3 separate regions of the Homo sapiens genome follow, and all the other regions are linked to region 1. Evidence: promoter capture Hi-C in 16 types of primary human blood cells and fetal thymus (Javierre and others, 2016). All regions are on one chromosome and are shown on one strand. Each heading gives the region's core, a stretch centred on a gene start or on the middle of the fragment in contact. The rest is flanking DNA. Distances are from core to core; before and after follow the strand shown. Region 1 holds the start of LINC01827 (long intergenic non-protein coding RNA 1827). Region 2 has its middle 15 kb from the start of NABP1. Region 3 overlaps NABP1 (nucleic acid binding protein 1).

Region 1 (4,214 bases), core at 1,204-3,703:
AAATTAGAATTTATTCTTCAGCACCATAAGGTTTATGGGAACACAACAAATAAAAATGGTCACAATTATTTGTCATGTCTGGAAAAGTACAAGACTGTGACTACTAATTCATAACACATTTATATCAGTTTTACTTACTTATGGCTATTATATTTCCTTTGTGAATTTCACAGGTTTATGAAAGCATTAACTGATCTTTTTATATTACTCTATCTTCATGGCTTATCCACAGCTTGATTTCAACTGGCCATGCTTAGATAAAGCAAATTTCCATATATATTTTTTTCTACCTTCATGCCTAGGTAGAGATCCTAGATATGTTGAGCTTTATTTTATTTCTGCAAATGTAAGTAAACATTTGTACATGTGACTTGGAGGAAAATTAGAGGAAGAATTTATTTATTGTTCATTTAAGACTGATAATTATTGGGTTCATGTACTAGGAAGTTATACTAAGAAAAAGACTCTCAAAGAAGACACAAATTTTACAAAGCCATACTCATAAAACATATAAAGATGATGACATATCCAGGATCAGATTTAGATCCTCTAGATCCATCCCAAAGAAGAAAATACCAAAAAATAGCCCAAGCTGTAACTTTACCAATTTAGTTACTGCTGTCAAGAAACATTGCACAATGCCATCTAGTGACGAGTAACCAATGTATGATTAATCACATAGAAATGACTGGATGAGGAGGGGGAAATTCCCAGGATTTTATATGTAAGAGGGAAAGTCCTTCTGAGAGAATTAAAATGGATAGAGATTAGTTTTATTTCTCCAGGTACACTTAGTGCATGACAATTTATCACCGATCTGAAGCTTGGTAGTTTTTATTTTGAAATACTGTATTGCCACCTACCTCTGAATCTGCAGCTCTACCTCCTTCTGCAGCTGCCCTTCATTATTCCGTCCACAGCTGAACTCAGAACTGTGAGTGTTCTCCAAGCCGCAGCCCCCCATCTAATGACAGGTGGTGGAGGTGGAGCACTTTAGAAACCAGTCTCAACAAATTAAAAAAAAAAAAGGACTTCAAAAAAGGGAACCAAGTTGATTCTTAAAACAATCTGTGCCACATTAAAAATAATAACAATAAATAAACTTGGAAGTTCAAAGAGTAAAACTAAAACAGGGACTAAAGGAAATCATCTTTGTTTTTTGCAGCCAATGACTGTGCAGACCTGATGCTGTCTTGTTCTTGTACCAAATTCTCCTTGAAAATACCAGAGACCTCTCTCTGAATGGCCATAACATTATACCCTAAGGGAAATAATTTTCTCCAACATTTCTCATCTTTTGTAAACAGATGGCATATATATATTTAATATATATATTTATAGATATATTTATAGATATTTATATATATTTATAGATATATTTATATATATATTTAAAGAGAAAGAGAAATACCAACAGTCTGCCAACTGTGGAATTCTTATAGTCCGATAGTTTCTTTTTGGTTATTTTTTCACAACTAAATTAACTAGTGTTGCTGCCATAGATACATTTAAGAAAATCAGACACTTTGCTGCTTTTACATATATCTGTCTGAAACTCAGCAGGAATATTTCAGTTGCCTTAGAAAAATATCCAGTTAACAAACTTTGTGAAGTGAAAAGAAAACCTTATCAAAATCTCCAGCTTCAAGTACATTTAGTTGTTTTCTTTTTATTGTTGCTTACATGCTGTGATTGGAGCACAATATGTGGAAATTGCATAACCATTATTTCCACAAATCAAAGCTATTGAGACATGGGAAGGCCATGTGGAGCTGCTGCATGAAATGTTGGTTAAAAAAATTCCACTCTGCCTTTATATCTAAAGTCTTCCCTTCTTTCAGGTATCAATGGTTTCTTCAGTCGTAAGCATCACTAGGTTGTGTTTCGTTTGTTTAACTGCTTTTAAAATCAGAATTAGCCATAGGTCAAATAACATTTTTTGAAAAACATTTTCTCTATGTGTCTTATATTTTTCCTTAGTTCTACTTTGTTTTGTTATTTTTAATATTTTGGGGGTAATCTAGGCAAAGAGCTCTTAATTCTTAATGCATTAGAACCATCAAGAAACATTCAGTGCAATTTCCATGTCTCAGGGGAAAGTTTTGGTGTCCTCACCTCGATCCATTCCCAGGTTTATGGGGACTAGGGAGAATCCTTTCACTATTATTTTACATTTTAAAATATACCTAATCAAGTGCAGTGCAGTGCAGTGGTGTATGCCTGTGGTCCCAGCTGCTCGGGAAGCTCAGGAGAGAGCATCACTGGAACCCAGGAGTTTCAGTCCAGCCTGGGCAACACAGCAAGATCCCATCTCTAAAAAAAGAAAAGAAAGAAAAGAAAACAGTGGCCAGTCAGATGGCTATGTAGGTCAAAGACAGCCTGACTGAATCATATGAGAGGGAAGAAAAACACTTGTCATTCCTAGCTTTCTGTGTTCCTCTTTTGTTCCAGCAGAGCTTTGGTTGTACTACTCTAATACCCATACAACACTGCTTTCCTTAGAGCCACAGCTACTGCTGAGAACTCAAAAACTTCTTCCTTTCCGGTGAACACGTCTAGACTTGGGCTGGGGATGGGATGAAGATCTCTAACACCTTCCTGGAAATCAAGAAGTGCAAATAGGTAATTTTCCCTTTTTTTTTTTGAGATGGAGTCTCACTCTGTCGCCCAGGCTGGAGTGCAGTGGTGCAATCCGGCTCACTGCAATTCTCCCTGCTTCAGCCTCCTGAGTAGCTGGGATTACAGGTGCCCGCCACCACACCCAGCTATTTTTTTTAGTTTTAGTAGAGACGGGGTTTCACCGCATTGGGCAGGCTGGTCTCGAACCCCTCACCTCAGGTAGATCCGCCTGCCTCGTCCTCCCAAAGTGCTGAGATTACAGGTGTGAGCCACCGTGCCCAGCCTGGTAATTTTCTTAAGAGAGAAATAATGCTTTGTTTTGAGATGTTCTGCTGGGGTATTCTGGTAGCTCTTTCAGTGCTTAAACTCATTCCGAGTCTGCACAAATGGCATAATATTTAGCTGTGCTTTGACACTCTTCAGCACCTGGAATATAATGAGCATAAATATCTTTTTAGGTTTCTAGATCAAAGATTGTTTTCTTCTATAATGTTTCTCCTCAAAGAAGTGTTTCACTGTTCTGTAAAGTAAATTTCAGAGATTATAAGGCCAAAATAGCGATTATAGCAAAAGTCTATGATCAGTTACATTGTCTAATTTTGAATTACAGTGGCAGCTTTTCTTTTATCTTTAAATTTGGTGCCATTTCTTCCTATCATTTCCACCCCTGGGATTTTTCTGGTTAGAGATGTATATAATTGCCTTTCTGCCCACATTCCCTTCTAAAAGAATCTGTTCCCCTGCTGAACAGATGGGCCTAGTCATCTATGTTTATATCATATGACCCTACTCCCTGGTTATGATGATTGGACCAGGGTGGGGAGACCTACTCTGAGAGTCGATCCATAGGTTAGGCCAAGCCAACTAGATGATATTGTTTGAAAAAATTTCACTGAGACACAAAAGTCATAGTTAAGTGATGAGAATTGGAGTTGTCGGGTCACAGGTATTTAGTGTGAGACCTCTATGGCAAGCTTCAGCTACATGAACATTAAATTATGAGGGAACCCAAAGTAAAATCCTTACATGTGGAGCCAGCCTACAAGAGCAACCTAGAATAGACATGCAGAGAGAAGCAGTAGCAAGAGCTTACACTGACATTTGTAAAATCCCTTCTCACCATCCAGAGCCTTTTCTACTTTAAACAAACAGTATGTTTTTGAGCATGGCTTGGGCTGGATTGCCCACCTCCAGAGAACCTGTTTGTCTTACACTAATCAGCATTATTACATCATTCTGTCCATGTGACTGATTCAGAGTAGGCATGTGAACCATTAATGGACAATAAAGGAGACAGTTGCTGGAGTTTTGTTTGTTTTTTTTTTTTTGTTTTTGAGACTGGGTTTCGCTCTGTCATCCAGGCTGACGGGCAATGGCGGGATCATGGCTCAGTGCAGTTTCGATCTCCTGGGCTCAAGTGGTCCTCCCACCTCAGCCTCCCAAGAAGTTGGGACCACAGGAGGGGGCCACCATACCCGGCTAATTTTTTTGATGTTTTGTAGATATAGGGTCTCCCTATGTTGCCCAGGTTGGTCTCTAACTCCTGAGCTCAAGTGTTCTGCCCACTTCAGCCTCCCAAAGTGCTAGGGTGAAAG
Region 2 (4,214 bases), core at 678-3,177, 3.9 Mb after region 1:
ATTCAAAATGGCTGCCAAGACTCCAAGCATCATACATCCCATTTCACTCAATAGAAAGGAAAAAGGTAAGGGAAAAGAGAGCCCACTCTAATTTGGGATGTTTCCTGAAAGTTGCACACCCAACTTCTTCATATCCCATTGGCTTGCATTTACTCATGTATACACACCTATCATCAAGGGGGATCAGGAAGGTGGCTTTCTGGTGGCTGTGTCCCCAGCCAAAAATCAGTGGTTCTATTACTATGGAAAAAAGAGTAGATAAGAATGAAGATATGAAGGAGGTGAGGGAACAAATCACGTAGATATCTGTGAAAAGAAAGCACAGGCAGAGGGAAATGCAAACACAAAGTTTCAAAGCAGGAGCATTCTTGGAAAGTTTGAGGAACAACAAGGAATCCAGCATAATTAGAATGAGAAGAGGGGTATCAGATGAGAATGAAGAGATAGCCAGGGATCAAGCTTAGTAAAGGCCAGGTAATGTGCTGTGAATAAGATATTCTAAGAATCCCAAAGCAAAGCTGTGTAGGGGTCCTCAAGACCACCTACCAGGTTCAATGATTTGCTAGGAGGACTCACAGGACTCAACATATAGTCCTACTTATAGCCGTGACAGTGACAGGATACAGAGCAAATTCAGCAAAGGGAAAGGCATATAAGGCAAAGTCTGAAGAAACCAGTTGCAAGCCTCTAAGGGTCCTCTCCTAGTGGAGTCACACAAGAGGCACTTTAACAGACATGAACAGACACTTCTCAAAAGAAGACATTTATGCAGCCAAAAAACACATGAAAAAATGCTCACCATCACTGGCCATCAGAGAAATGCAAATCAAAACCACAATGAGATATCATCTCACACCAGTTAGAATGGCGATCATTAAAAAGTCAGGAAACAACAGGTGCTGGAGAGGATGTGGAGAAATAGGAACACTTTTACACTGTTGGTGGGACTGTAAACTAGTTCAACCATTGTGGAAGTCAGTGTGGCGATTCCTCAGGGATCTAGAACTAGAAATACCATTTGACCCAGCCATCCCATTACTGGGTATATACCCAAAGGACTATAAATCATGCTGCTATAACGACACATGCACACATGTTTATTGCGGCACTATTTACAATAGCAGACTTGGAACCAACCCAAATGTCCAACAATGATAGACTGGATTAAGAAAATGTGGCACATATACACCATGGAATACTATGCAGCCATAAAAAATGATGAGTTCATGTCCTTTGTAGGGACATGGATGAAGTTGGAAATCATCATTCTCAGTAAACTATCGCAAGAACAAAAAACCAAACACTGCATATTCTCACTCATAGGTGGGAATTGAACAATGAGAACACATGGACACAGGAAGGGGAACATCACACTCTGGGGACTGTTGTGGGGTGGGGGGAGGGGGGAGGGATAGCATTGGGAGATATACCTAATGCTAGATGACGAGTTAGTGGGTGCAGCGCACCAGCATGTCATATGTATACATATGTAACTAACCTGCACATTGTGCACATGTACCCTAAAACTTAAAGTAGAATAATAATAATAATAAAAAGAGGCACTTTAGTCCTCTACATCAAGTGTGGCAACCAGTATGAAATACTGCCTACCAGGGAAGCTCAAGGTTTTTATTGAGGGCTTGTCACAGAGGCACCCTTTTCCTGGCATATACCAAAGCCCTGACTGCCAGAAGGAAAGCATGGTGGTGAGCATAAACTATGCTGTTTATACTAACAGTTTAGACACAGTGGGCCACTCTTATCATTTAGGGAATGGCCAGAACCCTGCTGAAACCTACATTTCCAGATACCCATCAATAGCCAACCTTGCAAGGAGATTTCTAGGAATAGCAGTCTTGGGCCTATTGCTAATTCTTTCCTGAACAAAAGTACACAGGGAGGGAGGCACAAAGCAAAGTGGAGTAGGAATCAGGAAACTAAGCAGAGACTAACCAGGCTCATAAGTTAGTAGATGCAATGAGTAAATAGAAACCATGAACCAGATAAACTGAGACAGAGAGAGTACAATAGTAACAGAAGGAGGAAGAAGCAAGGAGAGAAGTCAGTGGGACGACAACCCCTATTATTGCTGTTAGGATATCAGAGTTGCTATTAATATATGATTCTGGAGATCAATGAACAATGCTTCAGCTTCACATGAGGCCTGATTATTCCATTAAAATGTTTCCTATACTTGCTTCCTAATGTACTCATATCCTTAGAATAAGTTGAAATCACCGAAAGTCAGAGGCATATTTGTGCTCCTTGAAACCTAAAAACACTTCACTAATACACCTAGGGTTTTAGCCATTGAAATATAGATGTTATAGAGAAAAACTAGAATTGTAGCCAAAGGATCACTGGCCAACTGGATAAAGGACCAAGATTTATAGTATGGCATAAAACCTCCCCTCACCCCACTCCATAAAGCCCCTGCTCCAGCTACATCAAACTACTCACAAGTACATTCAAAGTGCACTTCTATGCTTCTTTGATTTTGATCATGTAGTTTACCCTGTTTAGAATTCTTGGCCTTGTCATTCTCAAAAAACTCTGAAGAGCTTCTTTACCCAGCTCGAGTCATTTGCATTCTCGATGAAGCCTCTCTGACCATTTCTTCCCCATACAGTCTTGTCTAGCCCCTTTAGAATGAATCTTTATTTCTGGACTACTCTCAGTTCTTGGTACATATTTCTATAGTAGCACATATAAAACATATTGTAATTGACAATTTATGTGTCTGTCTCAGAATAAATTATGTTCCTAGCACTTAGCATAGTGCTTCACAAGTGGTAAGTCTTTACTAAATGTGTATCAAGGAAATGAATGGATGAACGAACCAAGAAACAAATCCAATGAATCACATATTGAAGAGTTATGACACCAGGAATCAAGGACAAGGCTCCATGACCAAGACACCCAATTTTCAATTCTCATGCTTGAGACAATAATATCTCTCATCTATTGGGGTACTTTTTATTTCTCCAAATTATATTGCTTTTGTACACCCTAGTTCTTTGAAGATACCGTTACTTTACTCATGTTAAATAGCTGTGTTAGCATTGATTATAACAATTTCCCTAGTGAGGAAGCAAATTATTTTCTTAAAAATTATGGCAGAACTTAAATATCCCCCAACTTAAAAAGTCTGATGCTAAATATATTTAACTCTATAGTGTCTAAGTATGTTTATACAAGTAAGTAAACACACACAATTATTCTCCTGCTGTGAAAGTACTTTCTACCTCTAGTGGCTTACATGTGTATGCATATTTTTAAGTTAAACTTTTCAAAGGGGAAATATTTCAAGTAATATTGATTTCACAACCCACTACTATGACACTGAAAGTGAATTCCCCAAGCAATTTTATAATAAAACCAATTCTAAAAGCTTAGACATGGTCATGGCAAACATCAAATAAAATCTAAATTTGTTACTATTTCCATGTGATTTCTTTTGAGTAGTGACCCTTTAAAATCTGATAGTGTATAGGTTTCCTTTATCTCCCTGAGAGTTATCAGAATCAAGGCCTTTGGTTAAATGCTTTCATCACATATTGTGGTTGTGGTGGCTATTGTTTTCAACATGCAAGAGGTTGCAAGAACTGAACTACACAAAATGGATTCCCCAAAACTGAAAAGAGATTTTTAAAAATAGGACCGTGAAATTCAAGCTCATTTGAATTAATTTTGAATTTCCTAGGTCAGCCATCTGAGAGAGGGCTTGCAAATGTGTGTTGATGAGGTTGAGGTGTTGGCCAGTTCTCACATGTGTGTAGAGAGAATGTTGTTGCAGAGTTAGAGAAGGAAACCAATATTTTTTGAACATTTTCTTTGTGCCAGGCTCTTAACATACGCTCTCATTTAATCATCACAGCACCCTTCTATCATAGAGGTCATCATCCACATTCCACAGATGAGAAAAGGAAGCTTGGAGAAGGAAGCTCCAGGCTGCACACCTATTGCTGAGGAGAGCTGAAATTCCAACCATGTTTCTCCAGCTCCAAAGTCTGTGCCTCTACCACTTGATATAAAAGACCATGTGATCACATCACTAGCTACAAACAGTTCTAACTAAATGTAAGCTATCCTGGAATTCATCCCTAAAATGGAGTGATCTGCTTGAAGATTAAAATTTAAAAAAAAAAAAAAAAGATTTAAACAGGGATCAGCAAATTATAGCCCCAAACTTGCTTGCCAAATAACCTAAGGCT
Region 3 (4,214 bases), core at 1,106-3,605, 3.9 Mb after region 1:
GTACTAACATTACAAAGAAGCATTTTATTACTCCTCACCATACTGAAGACAAATCAGAACCAGTTTTGGTAAATCCTCGACTGACCCTGACAAAGAGCAGTCATTAAGAAATGAGTGACCTCTAACGGTTTTTCACGTAACTGACCTCCATTATTATCAACACCTCTGTATGAATACATGAAGGTCAGGACAGAATCCTGAACCTTTCAGTAACAGACACTAAGACCTTTCATAACACATAACTCTATTAATGCTACTCTAAGTGAATCCTAACTTCCCTTCTAACAAAGGCAAAGCGTTAAGTGTTTCTGATCTTTAAAAGCTAGCATGATCATTTCTTTTCCTTCATTATTAACCACAGGTTCTCCAAATAAGCATCTTATTCCCTCAGTGGCAAACAGTTTTCCTTTTTTATCTGGTGCCATTTGTGGCTTCTCTTTTTAAATATCTTCCAATTTGACAGGCATTAAGTAGATGGCAGAGCATTAACCAAACAGAATGGACTGATGATTTGGCTCATTGCCTGTACCATACTTTATGAATACAACCCAATGTCTAGGCTAACATGGAGGCTGAATTACCTTACACCCCTAGAGAGGATGGCTCCTCCAGGTCAGGGTGGAGATCATTACCAGGGTAGTAGTGTATGGAATCTCGCATTGCGGCTGCCTGCACCGCACCTAGACTGTGGATAAATAGAGGACTTCAGTTTTCGTTGCTGCAAGTCCTTTTTAACATGAGTACATATTCACCCATAACCATAGAAAAAGAAAATTTAAACTTATGGCCTGAAACTTGGTGAATCACTAGCTTCGTATATGGTGAATCACTACAAAAGAGAATCTACTTCAAATGGCTCTTGTGACACCTAAAAAATGCACATTTCTAAAACCTACAGAAATGCTTCCACTAGGGCTGGTCTCAACTGCAGCTTCTTCTACTGCTCTTTGCCAGGAAAAATTGACACTTTTAACCACAGAAAACAGTACTGACAAGTGTTAAATTTGTATACACGAAGTTATTTTTTCAATTAAGCTACCAAAGACATTCAGTTTACTAGTCAAAAAAGCCAAAGAGGTTTACAATTCATACCTACCAATCATTCCGTAGATATTATTTATAATATATGCAATTATACAAAATGCATTTTAATACTTACTCCCCAATTTTTTGAAGTTCACCACCCCTTCCAGTATAAAGTGTCAGACATCCTTTCCACATGGATGCATACCTAGAGAGAAAAGAAACATTAATTCTTTAGAAATATATTTATTTTCTTCTATTTAAATCAAGTAAATCTTCACACTATATATTTTTTGTATTAAGGTAGAAGTGAGGATCAAGCCCTCTCTATCCACCATAGTAAATCAAATACAATAAATCTAACTTTGATAACTTGCTATTTACAAAAGAATACAAAAATTCTGTCGAATTTTGACATAATTATCTAAATCATAACAAATTCTGGAAAATAAGTCTTTTCGCAAAGCCAGTATTATTATACCCAATGATCACATCTTTAGTCAATTAACAAAACAAAAGCTTTTAATTGCAGAAATTTAAACAGAAACTATTTTTCAGCCACAAGATATGTAAAATCATCCTAATGTTTCATTTACAGTCTAGTCAAATAATGATATAACAGTTTTCCTTCTGCCTCCATAAAAGACACAGGATTCCTAAGCTACCGAAGATCTGGTAGAATTTCAAAGTGCTAAAAAAAACACTAAGGTCACAAAGCTTCACCTATCTGCCTTTCCAAACATGTGATTTTTAATACCATGCTGGGTTTGTAGTAAACAAACTGGCAAATGTTTACTCCGAACAATTTTGAAAGCAGACAGCATCACTACATAAAATAATCCTAGATATCTAAGAAAAAGGTAAATTAATATTATAAAATCAATCCAAGGTTTGGTTCTCAATGGTTCTCTGTACAACTACTATGGTAACTTCATGACTTTAACTTACTATACAGTTCTCTTTACTTTAATTAAAGGGTTATTTATTAAAGACACCATTCACCACTCTTAAGTTATACAAAGAGTGGCTTAGGATACAGTGCATTAACATTTCACCTTACTAAAATAAAAATTAACCCATATTTTGAGAAAAAATTTGGTTACAATTAAAATATTTAACATTCACTTTAAGAAATGAGAACACTGAGGTAAGTTTTCAGGGTATTCTGATAAACATGTTGATATTTGAACCATTATTTAGATGTTAGGTATGTTTTTCTTCAAAAGCTACTTTTCTTAGATTCAACCAGAATTTAAGGGCCTTAGAATGAGCCAGACTCCAAGCTGAGTGTGTTGTTTTGGTAAATAAGGTATAATTATTCCCATTTCACAGAAGAGGAAGCTGAAGTATGAGGTGTAGTAACTTCTCAAGGTCATACTGAAGTAGTAAATAGAGTTTCTATAGTTTTTAATTTTCGTTTAAATTGTACTCCCAGGTAATTGTTCCCCTTAAAATTCTATAGTACCTAACTAATAAGTTTAATTTTCCAATAATTTTTTTGATGGAAACACCTATGACTGTCACTACAGAACATGAAATACTTGAAATAAGATGCCGTTTTTAGCGTAAAAAATACTTTCAATCATTGGGTGAAAAATATTTGGGGAGCCAAAAACTCCAATTATACTAATCAATCCTCACCATACTTCCCTAAGAAGGAATTCTCTTTTGTTTTTTAAAGATGTGGAAGTTTAAATTACTGTCATGAGTCAGTGTATGAGAAGAAAATGTCTAAGTCCTGACTCTCACTTCCTGCTTTGATGACACTTTACCTCACTTCCTGAAGATGTTGTAAGCCTGCAAGGTAACACCAAGGAGCTCTAAGCTCCTACTCTCAGTGCTTTCCAATACTTCTAAGATTCTACTTATTAGGCCAACATCAATCTCCACCACTTTCCCTGCAGTTAATGATAAATTATTACAATTTTATTGATCTCAAAAGCTTCCAAATTCTGTTTTTAAGATCCTTTTCTGCCCTTTTATCTTCCTAAGATAAAAATTTGGTAAATTTCTAAAAGCAATCTATTTTTTAAAAAAAAAGTTCTAGTATTTTTTAAAGCCACCTATCCGCCAACTGACTCTTTTGGATGAAGGTATTGTAGATGCCTTTCTGCCAAACATTTTCTGTGTATCCCTTTGGTTTTTGCGCAACATCCACCTTACAGCAGAAGACACAAGAAATCATTTTGGAGAATGAGCCTTCCAGATACTGTAAAGTTTCCCTCTTTTTCCAAGTACAAATTTGACATATCACAGAATATGCTAAATCCTTTACCTATAATTTTCATTTATGTCCACATTTCTAAATAACATATGTAAAATACTGGCCAGGATTTCAAGTCATTAAAAATGGAGAAGGGGTGGGAAACAACTGAGTGGCAACTACACTAGAGAAAACAACTTATAAAAAAGAAAAAATATGGACTATACCAGTCTCCTAAAAAGACTCACTGACTCAGAATAGAACTAAAAATCTATGCCGGGCGTGGTGGCTCACGCCTGTAATCCCAGCACTTTGGGAGGTTGGGGCGCGCGGATCACTTGAGGTCAGGAGTTGGAGACCAGCCTGGGCAACACTCTGAAACCCCGTCTCTGCTAAAAATACAAAACTTAGCTGGGCGTGGTGGCACACGCCTGTAGTCCCAGCTACTTGGGAGGCTGAGGCACGAGAATCTCTTGAACCCGCGAGGCGGAGGCTGCAGTGAGGAGAGATCACGCCACTGCACTCCAGCTTGGCGACAGAGCGAGACTCGGTCCCAAAAAATAATAATAATTAAAAATCTACTTAACCTGTAAACCGGGGTAGAGGCGCGGATTTCCCAGCTGAAACCGACTGCCTTTCACTGCAAAGGTCTGTTACATCCCAGCGCTGCCCACCACCCAAAGTTAACACCAAAGGAGTTCAAAACTCCTCAAGAGTGGCCCACAGAAAAGGCGGGGGACTTCAGGGCTTGCCAAGATCCCAGGAGCCGGCCAATCCCGATTCTGCAGACTGTTAGGTCCCCCGACTTTTTTGCACACCTACCCTCTGGTCAACCGAATAATATCCCCTGGCTGTATAAGACCTCCGATCTCATCCCACACGGAAATAGTGATGCTGCCCGTTTTATCTGCTACTTTGCACGATCTCACTTCATGGCCGTCTTTGGTTTTGGTCACGCGTCCTGTGAGGATTTAAAAATCAAAGGGAG

The links. Contacts are between HindIII fragments. The CHiCAGO score rates a contact against its expected background, and 5 or more counts as called.
Region 2: a contact is called between a fragment that was not itself captured here and the fragment with the promoter of LINC01827 in region 1, in 1 of 17 cell types (M0 macrophages). The highest score is 6.6, in M0 macrophages.
Region 3: a contact is called between a fragment that was not itself captured here and the fragment with the promoter of LINC01827 in region 1, in 2 of 17 cell types (non-activated CD4 T cells and M2 macrophages). The highest score is 5.2, in non-activated CD4 T cells.

Annotation. Positions count from the first base shown.
Region 1 is chr2:195,572,732-195,576,945 of GRCh38, reverse strand. It overlaps LINC01827 (long intergenic non-protein coding RNA 1827), which reads left to right and starts at 2,453. Exons shown (of 2, transcript NR_187191.1): 1 at 2,453-2,622. The HindIII fragment of the contact is 2,770 bases long and covers 826-3,595 here.
Region 2 is chr2:191,660,824-191,665,037 of GRCh38, reverse strand. No RefSeq gene overlaps it. Among named protein-coding and RNA genes, the nearest start is that of NABP1, 15 kb to the left of the region's middle. The HindIII fragment of the contact is 2,932 bases long and covers 462-3,393 here.
Region 3 is chr2:191,678,963-191,683,176 of GRCh38, reverse strand. It overlaps NABP1 (nucleic acid binding protein 1), which reads right to left. Exons shown (of 6, transcript NM_001031716.5): 2 at 4,049-4,187; 3 at 1,160-1,231. Among named protein-coding and RNA genes, the nearest start is that of NABP1, 2.9 kb to the right of the region's middle. RefSeq lists an enhancer at 2,671-3,870. The HindIII fragment of the contact is 1,225 bases long and covers 1,743-2,967 here.